Linked DNA regions of Homo sapiens: regions 2, 3 and 4 are each linked to region 1. The links are contacts of gene promoters, found by promoter capture Hi-C in blood cells and fetal thymus (Javierre and others, 2016). All regions are on one chromosome and are shown on one strand. The core of a region is centred on a gene start or on the middle of the fragment in contact, and the rest is flanking DNA. Distances in the headings are between cores, read along the strand shown. Region 1 holds the start of NIBAN1 (niban apoptosis regulator 1). Region 2 overlaps LOC105371649 (a long non-coding RNA gene). Region 3 overlaps SWT1 (SWT1 RNA endoribonuclease homolog). Region 4 overlaps NIBAN1 (niban apoptosis regulator 1).

The links. Contacts are between HindIII fragments. The CHiCAGO score rates a contact against its expected background, and 5 or more counts as called.
Region 2: a fragment that was not itself captured here is called in contact with the fragment with the promoter of NIBAN1 in region 1 in 6 of 17 cell types (neutrophils, monocytes, megakaryocytes and 3 more); the score reaches 13.9 in neutrophils.
Region 3: a fragment that was not itself captured here is called in contact with the fragment with the promoter of NIBAN1 in region 1 in 2 of 17 cell types (megakaryocytes and erythroblasts); the score reaches 7.4 in megakaryocytes.
Region 4: a fragment that was not itself captured here is called in contact with the fragment with the promoter of NIBAN1 in region 1 in 8 of 17 cell types (total CD8 T cells, neutrophils, naive CD8 T cells and 5 more); the score reaches 13.3 in total CD8 T cells.

Annotation. Positions count from the first base shown.
Region 1 is chr1:184,973,255-184,975,761 of GRCh38, forward strand. It overlaps NIBAN1 (niban apoptosis regulator 1), which reads right to left and starts at 1,254. Exons shown (of 14, transcript NM_052966.4): 1 at 1,048-1,254. The coding sequence starts at 1,102. RefSeq lists an enhancer at 439-608 and a silencer at 719-1,038. The HindIII fragment of the contact is 8,420 bases long and covers 1-2,507 here.
Region 2 is chr1:184,759,424-184,761,930 of GRCh38, forward strand. The region is part of intron 2 of LOC105371649 (a long non-coding RNA gene); the gene reads left to right. Among named protein-coding and RNA genes, the nearest start is that of EDEM3, 5.8 kb to the left of the region's middle. The HindIII fragment of the contact is 8,455 bases long and covers 1-2,507 here.
Region 3 is chr1:185,174,265-185,176,771 of GRCh38, forward strand. It overlaps SWT1 (SWT1 RNA endoribonuclease homolog), which reads left to right. Exons shown (of 19, transcript NM_017673.7): 5 at 108-849. Among named protein-coding and RNA genes, the nearest start is that of SWT1, 18 kb to the left of the region's middle. The HindIII fragment of the contact is 1,887 bases long and covers 311-2,197 here.
Region 4 is chr1:184,842,296-184,844,802 of GRCh38, forward strand. The region is part of intron 5 of NIBAN1 (niban apoptosis regulator 1); the gene reads right to left. Among named protein-coding and RNA genes, the nearest start is that of EDEM3, 89 kb to the left of the region's middle. RefSeq lists a silencer at 1,559-1,648. The HindIII fragment of the contact is 915 bases long and covers 798-1,712 here.

The DNA of each region.
Region 1 (2,507 bases), core at 4-2,503:
CGTACCCTGATTTGATATCTTTTTAAAACGGTCTTAAATGTTGTGGTGACTGAAAACAAATGTGGAATAAGAACACCAAATAAATGATTTCCTCTTAGGAAAGGATTCAAGGGCCAAATAAACCTAGAGTTTAATACATAGTCTGGAAGATATTTCTGAAGCCGAGGGTGGGGGATCTGGCGGCGGGGCGGGGGAAAGACAGTAAATTGGTAAGATAACCAAATGTTAGGTAGCGGTTGAAGGCAAGTTTGGGGTGGGGGGTGAGAAGAGGGGAGGCCAAATACGCCCAGGAAATAAAGGAGATAACGAGTCAGGACTTCCTGCAGTTTCAGTTCGGTTTGGGTTTTGTTTTGTTTGTTTTGCAGCCTCACGCTCTCTACTGAGTCCCCACATCTCTGAGGGTCTCCCTAAATGAGTTTCTCCCCATCTGTAACTTTCGGGCAGTTACAAAGCACGCCAGTGTTCCTCTTTTGCTTCGCCCCTCTCCGGGGCGGGAAGGGAACGGCATGACATTGTCCTTTTTGCCGCTGATGAAATCATCCTGCAAGTGCTAGGATGAAGTGCGAGCGAAGCTGCGGCCAACGCCGCGCTTTCCAAAGCCAGGCCAACATTACTAAGAGGGAAATTCTGCTTTAGCTGCCGGGAATCCCCAGGGGTATCTCTAGAAACGCGGGATATCCCCGCTGCTCTCTTGGCGGCCAGTTCAGAAACCGCTCAGAACTCAGTCCAGGGCAGGTACTGGAGGGCGAAGTGCGCCGGGCGGGGGCGGCACTGACCCCGAGGCGGCGGGAGCGGCGAAGGCGCCGGCGTCCCCACCCGCATCCTGCACCTGCCTCGCTCCCAAGCCCTCCCGGTCCCCGGTCCACACCCGCGCCGGAGCGCGCCGGCTGGGGCAGGAAACCCGACTCGCGCGGGCGGGCTGCGGTCGGGGATCCCCGCGCGCTACAGGGAGAGGGCCCGGGGCGCGCCCCTTGGGGCCCCGACCGCGGCAGCCAGCCTGGTGCACGGGTCAGGGTGCTCCCCAGGCCCCCGGGCGGGCGGGCGTACCTCGGATGTAAGCGCACTTGCCCTCGTCCAGCTGGCTGGAGGCTGAGCCGCCCATGACCGCGAGCTGCCTGTGCTGAGCGCGGAAACTGCCCGGTCCGCGCCCGCTGCTAGCTCCTGGAGGTTGATCCGACGGCGAACCCGGCTCTGAAATTAAGAGCAAACTTCCTTCGAGAGGCGAGAGACAGGAGGCAAGAGGCGTCGCCTTCTGGGGCGCCTCCTCCAGGTCCGCGCCTTCTGATGATCCGTGGGCCGGCCCGGGGGCTGTCTTCCCGCCCTCGCCTAGCTGGTGAGCTCCGACGGGCTGGCAACCGAGGAGGTCGGCCAGCTCCTCCTCCTCGCCCACGGTCACTTCTTGTTTTCATCCCTTTGGGGCATCCAAGAAACACCTTGGAGGAAGTGGACCATTTCTCAAGTGACTAAATCTCTGTGAGCTGGAACTTTCCCAGCTCACATCCTTCGAGGTGGAGCTCAAGATCACGTTGCCTTGTAAGTGTTGCTGTCCAAGAAGCAACAGTTCTTCCCAAGCATTACCTGGGAGCCTGTTAGAAATACAAAATCTCAGCGCTTTCGTCCACCACCCCTCTACACACACACAGACACACACACACTTAGAATCTGTGGGAGTGGAGCCCAGCAATCTGTGTTTGCACAAACCCTCCAGGGAATTCTGATGCCCGCTGAAGTTTGAGAACTAGAGGTAAACTATACCTTTCTGCAGGCGAGAACCTGGACCAAGGAGGGAGTGGGGAAATGAGGAAAAAAGGAAAGAGAAAAAAAAATGGAAAGACAGGGAAAAACTAAGGCTTGGTCCTGCAATATACTCCCAGCCCTGAAACTTCCTAAGACTTGATGAACGTCTGTCCTTACCCCTTTACTTTCCATTCCTCTCCTTAACTGGAAATCAATCATTAGAAAAGATATTTGTTCTTTTCCCACAACCACTATTTAGCTTGGCAGCCTCTCGGAACAAGACCCACTTGGGCAGAGGGGTCACCGCTGATTTCATCCTATTCTTAGTAGTCAGTTATTTTGCGACTCCTATTGACTTAACCTCAAGGTCAAATGGTCTGTATACACTAGAACCAGGCCTGAGGAGGACTTTGAAGGCTTTCCCACACACCCCCGCCTTCCCTATTAGCTAACTTGCACTTTAACACAATTATTTCATCACACTCACACCCAATCTCTCACACTCTACATTCCAATCTGTCAGTAAATCCTGTCAATTCAGCTTTTAAATATGTCCAATAGCCAACCAATTCTCATCCCCTCTACTGACATCCCATATCATTCCTCACCTTATTCATTACACTAGCTGCCTAACTGATCTACCTTCTTCAGAGAAAAGCCACGACGTCTATCAGGGCCTAGGTGGAGTTTCCTCTGTGATCTTCTCTACCACCACTCCTTGTTCTCTCTGTTCCAGCCCTACTAGCCTTTTTTTTTACTCTTTCTGAGAC
Region 2 (2,507 bases), core at 6-2,505, 210 kb before region 1:
TATGGCTCAGAAATAGTCCTAGGAAGCTGGGACCAGCTGTGCAAAACTGGTCATAGAACAGCAGTTGCCCCTAAATGATTTGAATTCTTTAGTACTACAGTTCTAATTACTCCTGAAACTAGTATGGAATTTGGGAGTGGTGATTTTGTCATTCTTCAAATTGCTTTTCCTATTCTTTGATAGCATGCAGAATTGACAACAGTTTTCTTCTAGAGAACCCAATCTTGCAAACATTAAATAAAGACAGTAATTATTCTGCATTCACAATTAGTGACTTTGAGGCCTTAGAAAGAGCACCTCATGACAAAGATACTCGGTGAATGTCGTCAACTGACTTCCTGCGTGGCTGTCGGACTGATTTTTTCAAATTCTAAGAAAGAGAATGAGAGATTCAGATGATTCACCTCCCCAAAAGATGTCCCCAGGGCTTTTTCCACCTCTCCATCTTGATTTGAGATCTTCAAAATCACTTCACCTTCAGATTATTATCCCATTTCTCTCACTGGCACTAGCTCCAACTCTCTCAGGCAAGAAAGTTTGCTCATGTGTCATGATTATTTGGTTGGGTCACTTATTTAGTGGCCATTTTCCATTTACTTCAAGTATCAGAAGCAAAACCAAGTCACATGGCTCTTCGAGGGAGTACATTTTGTGTTTGTTCCCTCTCTTAAATCCCCATTTCACCATCAGCATAGTTCCCACTTATTGGTACAGTGTGGCCACAGGATTTAGGTGAGCACCATTCAACAACAGTTGCACAGGTACCATTCAGGCCAAGAACAATGGCTCTGAGACAGCTCTGCTGATTATTGGCTGGGCTTCCTTAAGCAAATGACTAAATCTCTGTGCTTTTGTTTCCTCATTTGTAAAATGAGAATAAGAATAATACCTACCTCACAGCATTTTTAGAAAGATTAAATGGTTTAATTGTTATGCCTTCCTTTTAGGGATGTTGTGAAGATAATGAGATGGTGTGTGTAAAATATTTAGTACAGTTTGAAGGAACTCAATAAATAGTAGGTATCCATATCATGATTATGAGGTAAAGAGAAAACATCGCCATTGTTGAGAGTAGGATTCAAGGGTGAGTGCAGCTGCTCCAACAGCACCCATGGCTCTGGTTTTATTTTCAGCCCTGAATCTTTTTTTCTTTTTTAATTATTATTTTTTTAAAAACAGAGAGAAAGAGAGACAGGGTCTCACCATGTTGCCCAGGTTGGTCTTGAGATCCTGGACTCAAGCGATCCTCCCACTTCCGCCTCCCAAAGTGCTAGGATTACAGGTATGAGCCACCATGCCTGGCCCCAGCCCTGAATCTTGTCTACTTCCTTTGCTTGCTTACTTCGTGCTGCCATTGCAGGCTCCCCATCCAAAAATGTAGCCCTCTTTAGGCCAGCAACTCCAGAGACTGTTGAATTCAGGCACAGTTTGTATGAGCTATAGCGCCTCATCCCTGTATTAGAGTAAATACGCACAAAAACACAAGGTACTTTTCTGTCCTCTTAAAATTAATAATGGCTTCATTTGTAAGACATTTGAAGTTATAAACGTTCTGGAATAAAGTTGTCAGAAAATCTTTGCAGCTTTTTTGTTTGTGTGACTTTCTTCAGTTTTACTTTGTTTTTGTAAAAGCTCATCTTACCTCCAACCTCCAAGGGATTTAGAAAGATAGTTTTACTGGTTATCTAATTATGAAATTAAGGATCAAAGTGAAAGGTGCCCAGTTGATCTTGTCAAAAAGCATTAGGTAGAGTAATCCCCAACATTAGGACACTTAAGAATTAAAAATAAGTTATTTCTGTAATGATCCTATCATTTCTCATTATCCAAATCCGACATTCTTCCTAGAATTGTTATCCAAACCCTGTGTTCTTCCTAGGAGCTCCCTTTGCATACATATACATATATGTTTTGTATATGAGTATATATAAATATATACACATATACAATATACATATATTGCACATGTATGTATTTGTATACACATACTTGTAGTACTGTCTTTTCACCCTTTCTTCCTGTTCTTGTAATCCTCAGAGTGGTCCAAATTTGTCAATCCCCAGCATTTCTTAACCTCAGAGGTAAATGCTGACAGTCCTTAAATATTTGAAATTAAATATTTCCTGGCCTCCAGCTTAAAGTTCTATGAAAACAGTGCTTATTTCTGTTTCTTCTCCAAATGTATTGATAAGTTTGGAGTTTTTTTGGTTGGGATTGTTTTTTGCTTGATTTTTTACAGGTAGGGCTTTTAGGTAATAAGTGGGGGTAGTAAAGGTTTGTGATGGATGAGAAGTAGAATAAAGAGTTCTTGGTTTATTTGCAGATCAATCTCTTTGTGATACTTTAAAATCAGTATACAACCTTCAAATACATGATTATACTTAAAACTTTGAGAGAGTGGTGTTAGATACACGGCTTTCTTGAAGATCACCATATTTTTCTTGGCACTAGATGATGAGGCAAGTATAGTTTCATTGTGCACAAAATGTACTATTTTTCATCCATTG
Region 3 (2,507 bases), core at 4-2,503, 200 kb after region 1:
TTTTATGAAGCTTAATGTCAGCCCAATTCTGTTATTCTAACTAAAATGATAGAGTGCAACATTATGTATAATTATAATGTAACCTAGGTTTCTGTGCTGTTTTACAGATTGAGTGTAGAAATTGACACTCTCAGAAGGAGACCAAAAATCGGTTCTTCATCCCAAAGACCTATTAAACTCAAAGAAGCATCATATTCAAATGATAATCAAATTATTTTGCAGAGTCCTTCTTCAAATGGAACTAAAAAAGACATACATAAATGTGTAGACTTTAAACCTAAAGATATCAAATTGACAAATGCTGGGAGCAAGCTTGACCATGGAATTAAAAGCCTTAGTAGTCCTAAGATTGCCAGTGATGTGAAACCTAAAGCCGAAGGCCAGGCAAGTGAAAATAAATGGTCTCATTTACTTGTTCAGAGAGAGAAGATGAAAGAACTCAAGAAAGGAAGAAACAGTAAATTTAGAGACAATTCTGAAAAATGTGTCTTAGAGAAATGGAAGAGAAATCAATTTTCTCAGGATTATAACTCCAACAAGATAATTAAGGAACCCTTGGGATCTAGAAGACAGAAGATCAGTTTCAAAATCCCTATAAAATCCCGTGACACCCTCCAGAAACTTGTAGAAGAAAATGTCTTCAACATAGATTCTAATAATTCGAAGACTAAGCAGGAAGAAAGAGAATACCTGGAAAGCTCCCAGGTTTCATTAAATGTGACTAGGCAGAAAACTGAACATTTACTTTCAGATTTTACATATAAGCGGACTGTTCATGAGTGGAAACGAAAACATCATTATGACCATCAAGAAAGTAATGATTCACATTCTAGGGAAAACCTAACCCAGGTAAGGTAGTAAAAAATGAAGAATATAGGTTTTAACTGAGAGTTTATTAATATAGTTAAGTTTTTTCTGTATTTCTATATTTTTTTCTGTTTTTTTTTTTTTTTGTTGTTGTTTGTTTTTTGTTTTTGAGACAGGGTCTCACTCCGTTGCCCAAGCTGGAGTGCATGCAGTGGCACGATCCTGGCTCACTGCAGCCTTGACCTCCTGGGTTCAAGCAATCCTCCTGCCTCAGCCTCCCTAGTAGCTGGGACTATAGGCACACATCACCGCACTGGGCTAACTTTGGTGTTTTTTGCAGAGATGAGGTTTCACCATGTTGCTTAGGCTGGTCTTGAACTCCTGGGCTGAAGCAGTTCGCCCCTGCTCAGCCTCCCAAAGTGCAGGGATTACAGACGTGAGCCACTGCACATGGCCTTTTTAGTTGTTTCTATTACTGATGATAATCATAGATGGCTGATTCAAATTTATTCATGAAGATATGTGTTGGTTTCTTTATTTTACTCTCTTTAATTCCAACTTTTTTAGGAAGATATTTTGGCAGGTATCAAGGATTCATAATAGAAAGGAATGTGTAAAAATGTGGTGAGAAGCAGTTATAGATAGTCCTTTGAAAAAAGCATTGTATGCTGGAGAACACTCGGGACAATATTCTGAATAGTCTTTAAACAGTTTATTTTTTTCAGTGTCACCGTGTACCAGGCACCACAATAAAATAGCTTGTAAGAGATAACACAGTTTGTTTTCAGGGACTTATTCAAGTGAAGAGAGACACAAGCAATTTCCTTAAATAGGAAAAGTATAATACCTATCACTTAATAAGAGAATACACAGCAGGGGATTAATATAGCTTTGGTACATCATGAAAGAATTAGTTTAGAAAGGTATACTGGAGGGGACTGGATACAATGGCTCACGCCTGTAATCCCAGTGTTTTGGGAGGCCCAGGCAGGCAGATTGTCTGAGGCCAGGAATTCAAGACCAGCCTGGGCAACATACCGAGACGGGTCTCAACAAAAACATAAAAATTAGCTGGGTGTGGTGGCGTGAGTCTGTGGTCCCAGCTATTCAGGTGACTGAGGTGGGAGGATCACTTGAGCCCAGGAGCTCAAGGTTATGGTGAGCTGATCATGTAACTGCACTCCAACCTAGGTGACAGAAAGAGACCTTGTCTCCAAAAAAAAAAAAAAAAAAAAAAAAAAAAGATTTACTGGAGGCTGGAGGGAGTAACATTTAAACAGACCTAAAGAATGAGTCGAAGTTACTTAAGTGGAGGTGAAGTGAGGTAGAATGGGAGAAGCCGGGATATTTTAGGCAGAGGGAGCTACATGAGCAGGGATCTAGGCTAGAAAGCTTGGCACATCTATTTTGCTTTAAAATTATGTAATGTAATTGCCATTTATGGACTACTTTGAGAACCTAATCTCTATAATTTTGTTTCTATGTCAAATAAAGTTACTTATCTTCAAGAGAACTTTCAGAACTGTGGAACCTTGGAATTTTAGAACTTCAGAAATTCTGAAATGTAGAGACCACTGATAAACAGGGATGGTTAAGCCTACCTGCTTTTAGGTATTAAGACTGTGGACTGTGGCCAGGCCTGGTGCCTCACACCTGTAATCCCAGCACTTTGGGAGGCCGAGGTGGGCGGATCACGAGGT
Region 4 (2,507 bases), core at 5-2,504, 130 kb before region 1:
TGGCCCCCACTCCCAGAGTTTCTGATTCAATAGGTCTGGGGCAGGGCCCAAGAATTTGCATTTCTAAGAAGCTCCCGAGGTGATGCTGATGCTACAGGTCCAGGAACACACTTTGAGAACCACTCCTCTACCCAGCATTAGGAGAGTGGTTCTCAAATCAGAATCACTTGTGGTAAGGCCGGGCATGGTGGCTCACGCCTGTAATCCCAGTACTTTGGGAGGCCGAGGCAGGCGGATTACCTGGGGTCAGGAGTTTGAGACCAGCCTGGCCAACATGGTGAAGCCCCGTCTCTACTAAAAATGAAAAATTAGCCGGGCGTGGTGGCGGGCGCCTGTAATCCTAGCTACTCTAGAAGCTGAGGCAGGAGAATCACTTGAACCCGGGAGGCGGAGGTTGCAGTGAGCCGAGATTGTGCCTTTGCACGATCGTGCCATTGCAGCCTGGGCGACAAAAGTGAAACTCTGTCTCAAAAAAAAAAAAAAAAAATCCATTCTTGGTTTTGCCATAGATATTCTGATTCAACAGACCTGGAATTGGATCCAGGAATCTGTATTTAAACAAGCTCTTCAGGTAATTCTGTTGCAGTTGATTTACACATCACGTTTGAGAAAAAAAAAATGACACAAAAGCAAAGGTGATAGTAGAAGACCATGGTTCTTGAATGCTTAGCGTCTTGATGACCTTGTTCCCTCCTTAGCAGGTTACAAAAGGTCTACTCTGTCAACTGCTCACCCACTTAACACAAATGAACCCTCGCATTTAGTCAAAGTGATGGTTAAAAATAGTACCACAATGAAGCTTTATCAAAAAATATGTGGATAAGGAATCAACACTTCAGGTGGGTTCATGAGGACGCCATTCCAAACAACTAGAACTCTACCCATGGTGGAACCCCTTCCTCCTCCCTTCGGAAGCAGTCATCATTGTCTGGATGTAAATCCCCAGATGTAACCCTGATTGATCTCATTTTCTCTTTTCTGGCACTCAGTGGATATGTGGATTATAGCTTGTCTGTGATAGCTTTCTTTCCCTAGCATGAATGATCTGTTTCTTTACCATAAGTTTTTTTTCAAAGCCTTACAGATATGAAAATGACCCACACTCCAGTCTTTTCTAAAAAGTATGGATGGTGTCATCAGACACTTTCCCCCCCGCAAAAAAAAAGAGAGAATATTTGCTTCTTTCCAAATACCATCAAAATACTCTGTGTGCTGAAGTTGTGATTCATTGAACATGCTTTCCATACACCTGAAAGAGTTAATCTATCACCCCGTGTGCCATAGCCACCGGAGCAAAGTCAGGCCAAGAGAACAATGACACAATCAATTATTTCCTATCTTCCCTGGACAAATCTATATGGCTTTGTATGGGAAGATTTGTATTCTAAGACAGTGAGTGCAAAACTATCTCCCAATCCCTTGATAATTATTTATGGAGATGCTGCTGAGATGACCTCTGGAGAAAAAAATTACACCACAAAACCTAAGCAAAACAAATGAAAACCATCTAATTCCCTCTTTAAAAATGTGAATTTGAAAAAGTGCCCACCATATAATGTTTTACAGGCAGGTGTGGCCATCACACACCCGGGTTATCTTTCAGCTCAGACCACAGAAACTGGGTCACGTGCCTCTCAGTGACGTTGTGGGCATCTGTGTGGCTTACTCTCTGCAGGCAAGTTTACTACACAACTTGGATACGATTTAAAGCAAGCTTGACTGTTCAAACAAATAGGGAAGATGCTTCTTTAGTCACGACTTGTCCTTCATTTTTGATGACACTTTCTCTTATTTCTGGAAATGCTGTTGACAAACGGGTCTTGGTATAATTTATCACTGTAGCACATAAAAATACTAGGGACATTCTTCCTGACTGATTCTATGGATTACCTGCATCTTGTGAAATCAGAACACCTTAGTCTTACCAACATCTGTGAGAGCACACTTTCTACAAGTAAAGGCAGACAGTAAAATAACTTGGCTAGCTTTACATGAGAGAACAAATCACTGGCATTAATTGGCATCACTCATCATGTCCTAGCCTAACACACCTACAGAGTGTAGCACTGTCTGATGATGCTATCTGGGAATATTCTACTCATCATCATTACCAATGATTAATAATAGCATCTACCTTGAACTTGTCAGAGGCTTTTACAATTTACAACATTTCATTTGATTCTCACTGCAATCTCATGAGACAGGTAAGCCAGATGTAATCATTTCTGGTAGAAAATGGAAAAAACTGAAATCGAAGAAGTTTATGTCATTGCCCAAGGTCATATGAATAAATAACTCATTTTATCAGGTCGGAAAATAAGAATAAAAATAATAGGCACAATATAGATTTCTAGTCCCATGCAGATTCAGCTCCAAAAAGGAGCTAACCTTACTTAAAACTTTTAACTACTGCAGTTTACCCTTGTCTAGGACAATACATCCCAGCTTCATTATTCGTAACCTTTTTCCAAAGACCTAAGAAATTAAACTGACCCATGATCCATTTT